2 separate regions of the Homo sapiens genome follow, and region 2 is linked to region 1. Evidence: promoter capture Hi-C in 16 types of primary human blood cells and fetal thymus (Javierre and others, 2016). All regions are on one chromosome and are shown on one strand. The core of a region is centred on a gene start or on the middle of the fragment in contact, and the rest is flanking DNA. Distances in the headings are between cores, read along the strand shown.

Evidence for each region. Contacts are between HindIII fragments. The CHiCAGO score rates a contact against its expected background, and 5 or more counts as called.
Region 2: a contact is called between a fragment that was not itself captured here and the fragment with the promoter of RNASE11 in region 1, in 1 of 17 cell types (M2 macrophages). The highest score is 5.2, in M2 macrophages.

The regions. Positions count from the first base shown.
Region 1 is chr14:20,586,736-20,589,775 of GRCh38, reverse strand. It overlaps RNASE11 (ribonuclease A family member 11 (inactive)), which reads left to right and starts at 1,775. Exons shown (of 3, transcript NM_001394190.1): 1 at 1,775-1,916; 2 at 2,151-2,213. RNASE11-AS1 (RNASE11 and RNASE12 antisense RNA 1) reads right to left here and starts at 1,552. Exons shown (of 5, transcript NR_122043.1): 1 at 1,458-1,552. The HindIII fragment of the contact is 10,143 bases long and covers 1-3,040 here.
Region 2 is chr14:20,492,480-20,495,671 of GRCh38, reverse strand. No RefSeq gene overlaps it. Among named protein-coding and RNA genes, the nearest start is that of RNASE10, 11 kb to the left of the region's middle. The HindIII fragment of the contact is 1,819 bases long and covers 848-2,666 here.

The sequences.
Region 1 (3,040 bases), core at 526-3,025:
AGCTGGGATTACAGGCATGTGCCACCGCGCCCGGCTGATTTTTGTATTTTTAGTAGAGATGAGGTTTCTCCATGTTGGTCAGGCTGGTCTCAAACTCCTGACCTCAGGTGATCTGCCCACCTCAGCCTCTCAAAGTGCTGGGATAACAGGCGTGAGCCACTGTACCTGGCCTTGATTTCAGTATTTTAAAACAATCAAAATTAATGCAAAAATCTTGGATGCTCGCCGGGCGCGGTGGCTCACGCCTGTAATCCCACCACTTTGGGAGGCCGAGGCGGGTGGATCACGAGGCCAGGAGATCGAGACCATCCTGGCTAACACGGTGAAACCCTGTCTCTACTAAAAATACAAAAAATTAGCCGGGCGTGGTGGCGGGCGCCTATAGTCCCAGCTACTCCGGAGGCTGAGGCAAGAGAATGGCGTGAACCCAGGAGGCGGAGTTGCAGTGAGCCGAGATCGCGCCACTGCACTCCAGCCGGGGCGGCAGAGTGAGACTCCGTCTCAAAAAAAAAAAAAAAGAAATCTTGGATGCTCAAAATATCTATCACAAAATTTTGAAGATCCAATCTGACAAGGCTAGGATCAGGGTAAGATGAGTTATGTGAGAAACGTAGTGCAGGGCCAGATCCTGGTATTTAAAATTTTAACATTTGTTCATCAGGGATTATTTTGCATTAAATTTATTTTCTGGCCAGGCGTGGTGGCTCATGCCTGTAATCCCAGCACTTTGGGAGGCTGAGGCAGGTGGAACACTTGAGGTCAGGAGTTTGAGATCAGCCTGGCCAACATGGTGAAACCTCCTCTCCACTAAAAATACAAAAGTTAGTTGGGTGTGGTGGTGCACGCCTGTAATCCCAGCTGCTTGGGAAGCTGACACAGGAGGAGCGCTTGAACCTGGGAGGTGGAGGTTGCAGTGAGCCGAGATCATGCCATTGCACTCCAGCCTGGGCAACAGAGCAAGACTCTGTCTCAAAAATAAATAAATAAATATTTTCTAAAATTGTTGCATTAAAATATTATTTATCTTGATTATTGAGTTTTGTGGCACTCTCTTAAATTTTGGTCTTAGAGTGAGTGTCTCATTAACCTCAGCCTAATCCTAGCTCTGCTTCTAGCTGTAGAAGCAACAGAGGTCACCTCTTAGGGTCTTTTTTAAAGATAGCATATACAACTCAGGCAGCATCTGTTCCTGTTCAGCAGCTCCCTTTGTGTCTTGAAATAAAGAAAGGAGCCTGACTGGTCTGAAACCATTTCCCTTAAAGACTTTAGAGAGACACAGATAAGGATTTCCCAGGGAGGGATTGAGACTTTCAGAGCTCAGTGACCTCCTCTTTGTGTCTCCAGAAGGAACAGAGAGGACTTTGAGCCGGACTACTAACTCTTTTCTCTTTTTAGTTCTTACAATTGGACTTACTGCTTAGTTTCCCCACATTCAGCTATGGGCATAGTATCCTTACAGCTAGAAGGAGAAGGACGAGAAAGAGAGATTTCTAATTCTGGGGATTTCATGAAGTCCTCTTCTTCTCTATTCATTAGTTTCCTTGTCTGTAAAGTGAGGATCTTGAATTAGATAATCTTTCAAGTTCTTTCCAAGTCTATTAGTCTATAATTCTATTTCTTAAGTAGTACAGAAAATGGCTATATTATAGCCATTGTTGGAGGGGAGAATTTGTATTGTGAGGTAGTAAGAAATAAGGGGCAATTGGCAAATAAAGGCCAGATTATGTTGTCACTAATTCTGAGCTATGGCATTTCAATCCTGTATGTGAGAGCTAGAGACTCATACAGTGACCTAGAGCAGGCATGGGTGGGTCACAGGCTTTGGAGAGCACTCTCTGTCCTGATCTTTTCAGTTGAGAGACTTCAGCTGTTCATTGCTCATTTGGACTTAGTTCAAGGTCATGTCAAAGAAGAAGGTGCACTTACGCTAGTTGTTAGCTCTGTCTTTTGTAACCATCAAGTTCCATGCGATTGATCAGATTTAGGAGGGGGCGTTGGGGGATAATCGTAAGTGAAGGACAGTTTGCAACCTTGTGAGTAGGCAACGCTTACTCATCTCATGGCTTCTTCCATCTTAGGTGGCCGTTTTTCAGCTGAGTTTCATTTTCTAGTTCTCTGTGGTAATTCTGTTGTCATTGTTGTCTCCATAGAATTTTGGGTGTCACCAGGTAAACAGAGCCCTCAGCATCTGAATAGAAACTGAACAGGAACAGGTAGGTGGTCCCTAGCACATGATTTGTTGGGCCTTGGTAGCATCATTTTTTGGGCAAAACTTTGAAGTGGATGAAATGCATCCTTTAGGTTCCTACATCTATTTTCTGAATTCTGATTCCTTTTTCTATCCCTCTCCCTAGGTTTTGTTGTCTTTTCTTTCCTTTTCAGTGCTTTTTCTCCCCTTCTTCACCGAAGCTCCTCCTTTCTAATTAAAAATATCTTGCAGATAAAAGTATAACTGAGATGAACCAATAGGATGTATCCTCAGAGTAATTTCATTCAATAGGGATCAACACCAAATTCAAATGAATTGTGACATTTTAGACATTCGTAGTTTGGGTGTGTGTGTATCTATATCTATCTATCTGTATCTAAATATGTATATACATATATATTATACAGATATATAGGATCAGAGTCTCATTCTGTTGCCCAGGATGGAGTGCAGTTGTGTGATCACAGCTCACTGCAGTCTCAGACTTTTGGGCTCAAGAAATCCTCTCCTCTCAGCCTCCCGAGTGGCTGGGACTATAGGCATATGCCACCACAACTGGCTTTTTGTTGTTGTTGTTGTTGTAGAGATGGATTCTCACTATGTTGCCTAGGCTGGTCTTGAACTTCTGGCCTCAAGTGATCCTCCCGCATTGGCCTCCCAAAGCAATGAGACCACAGGCATGAGTGACTGTGCCCAGCCAGGTATATTTTTTTAAAGGGCACCTCTTAGCAGTTTCAAATAAAACCTAGGCAGCTGTGAATGCTGCCCACTTGAAATATATGTCTCAGAAAGACTGGAAATTTCTGCCCTGCTCTTCTTCCTGTTTATCTT
Region 2 (3,192 bases), core at 508-3,007, 94 kb after region 1:
GAGAAGCGGGGAGGGGAGCGGAGGGGAAGGAAGGGAAGGGAGAAAGGAAAGAAAAGAAAAGAAGAAAAGAAAAAGAAAGGAAAGGGGAAAGGACAGGAAAGAGGAAAGGAGAAAGGAAAGGAAAAAGGAATGAAAAAAAAGAAAGAACAGGAAAGGAAAGGAAACTTGAAGGGGAAGGAAATTACAAAAAGGAAGTCTGCTGGCTTTGTAAGGAAGGGGGTAATGAGTAAGTTCAGGCAGTTTTGTTTCATTTTGGGTATTTGCACCAGTATTCGAGGTGTCCCAATCAGAGTGACTCATCTTGAATAAAGGCCAGATGAAGCCAAACCTGCTGGGTTACTTTCCCAGGAAATTGGGCACTGTTAATCACAAAATGTTTATGGTTGAGGAAATGAGTTGATGGAAAAAGGCATTCTTAGTTTAAAAATGGGTTTCTTGGATGGCATGGTGGCTCACACCTGTAATCCCAGCACTTCAGGAGGCCAAGGCAGTTAGATTGCTTGATCTCAGGAGTTCAAACCAGCCATGGGCAATGTCAGGCGTCTGAGCCCAAGCTTGCACGTGTAAGTATCCGGATGGCCTGAAGCAACTGAAGAATCACAAAAGAAGTGAAAACAGTCGATTCCTTCCTTAACTGATGACATTACCTTGTGAAATTCCTTCTCCTGGCTCAGAAGCTCCCCTACTGAGCACCTTGTGACCCCCACCCCTGCCCGCCAGAGAACAATCCCCTTTGACTGTAATTTTCCACTACCTACCCAAATCCTATAAAACAGCCCCACCCCATCTCCCTTTGCTGACTCCTTTTTTGGACTCAGTCCGCCTGCACCCAGGTAATTAAAAAGCTTTATTGCTCACACAAAGCCCGTTGGTGGTCTCTTCACACGGACACACGTGACAGGCAACATGGTAGAATCCTATCTCTATAAAAAAATAAAAATAAAAATTAGCTGGGCATGGAGACTGAGGTGAGAGAATCCAGAGGATCAAAGAGGATCGAGTCAAGGAGGTGGAGGCTACAGTGAGCCAAGATCGCACCACTGCACTCCAGCCTGGGCGACAAGAGTGAAATTCTGTCTTAAAAAAAAAGGTGGGTGGGAGGGTTTCTTGTGGTGGTGAAGGTGTAAGCAAATAAACACATAAAAATAAACATGGGTTTCACTTTAAAGATAATACTACACTCATAAATTATTGCTGAAATCAATAGTTACACCGGAGAATAACAATACTAATAGCCTGTCACAACTTGATCACAAGCCTTTATAATAAAGTAAACTATTCTTTTTTTTTTTTTTTTTTTTTTTTTTGAGATGGAGTCTGGCTCTGTTGCCCAGACTGAAGTGCAGTGGCGCAATCTCGGTTCACTGCAAGCTCCGCCACCCGGATTCATGCCATTCTCCTGCCTTAGCCTCCCGAGTAGCTGGGACTACAGGTGCCCACCACCATGCCCGGCTAATTTTTTGTATTTTTAGTGGAGATGGGGTTTCACCGTGTTAGCCAGGATGGTCTTGATCTCCTGACCTCGTGATCCACCCACCTCGGACTCCCAAAGTAAACTATTCTTAACCTTAATATCCTGTATAAGCAAGCATTACATTTAAAGTAGGGGCATTCCTCCTCTTGCTCTCTGAGGATGCCCTACTCTGTAATAGAGTAGTTTCTAATGAACTGTTTTAACTATACTGTACTCTGCGCCCTGTCCTTAATTCTTTCCTGCTCAAGATCGAAGAACTTGCTCTTGAGGTTTGGAACAGGAATCCTTTTCCAGTAAAACCAGTAGTTCAAACCACTCCCTGCTCCACCTCTGACTTCCTCTTTTGTTTTGAGAGAGGATCTGCAAGACACTAGCAGTTTTGAGGAAGAGTGAGCCCTAGGGAGGGAAATGCTCAGTGGCTCTGTACTAGCTCAACTGTTGGAAGTCAGCCTCACCCCACACACTGGCCTTTTCCTGATCCCTTTCTGGTCTGAGAATGGGCAGTGGCCAGATACTGCCATGAGTAGATGGGAGTGAAAATACTTAGAGATGAAGAGGAGGCAGGAGAAGGGGAGCTGAAATTTTCAAACAATTGTCACTGTGTGATATTTCAACTTCAGATAGTGGCCAAATAAGTTTCAGTGGGAACTGCGTTCAATCCAAATGACAAAACCACTAAAGTCTGAAGAAGATGTACCAGCTAAACTGGTAGCTTCTAATCTTTTGATCATCATGGGTTCTTTTTTCTTTCCTTTTTTTAAATAAAATTTTAAAAATTCCTTCCCAGGTAGCTGGGAGTACAGGTGGGCACCACCATATCCAGCTAATGTTTTAATTTTTTGTAGAGATGTAGAGATGGGGTTGCCCAACCTATTAGACCCTTTTTATTATTCCCAGCCCCCATAGGTCCCTATAAATATTTGTTAAGATATAGTTGTAACTTAGCAAATGTATCTGGGGGACCATGTCCAAAAAAACCAGATGGACACCCAGAAAGGGTTTCAGGAGGTGGAGGCTGCACAATTATCCAAGATACATTGGATCCTATCCACAACTTACAGGTGCAAACTTGATCTTATCTGAGTTTTTCAGTTTCTTTTTTTTTGAGATGGAGTCTCACTCTTGTCGCCCAGGCTGGAGTGCAGTGGCGTGATCTCGGCTCACTGCAACCACCACCTCCCGAGTTCAAGCTTCTCCTGCCTCAGCCTCCCAAGTAGCTGGGATTACAGGCACCCGCCACCACACCTGGCTAATTTTTGTATTTTTAGTAGACATGGGGTTTCACCATTTTGGCCAGGGTCATCTTGAACTCCTGACCTCAGGTGATCTGCCTGCCTCAGCCTCCCAAAGTGCTGGGATTACAGGCATGAACCACTGTGTCCAGCGCATTTTTCAGTTTCATGCGAGTTACTCACACCAACCAATCCCCAGTTAAAACTATGAACAAGATCTACATTGAAAAATATGTGCAGTGAAAATAAACCTGCCCCATACATTCTCTCCCTGACTCAAGTGGGAGACCAAACCTCAAAGAGATGATTGCTTGGTGAGCATCAGTGGTCAGCAGCGTCACAGTTCCTTCGGGCCAGGATAAGCTTGGGAAAATGTTTCTGACTTGAAATTAAGAAGTGAGCTAGTGTGTTACTCCTGGACAATGATGGTTTAGTAGAAAGCAATTCTCAAAATTTAGAATTTCCCTTTCCAATTTCCAAACTCTC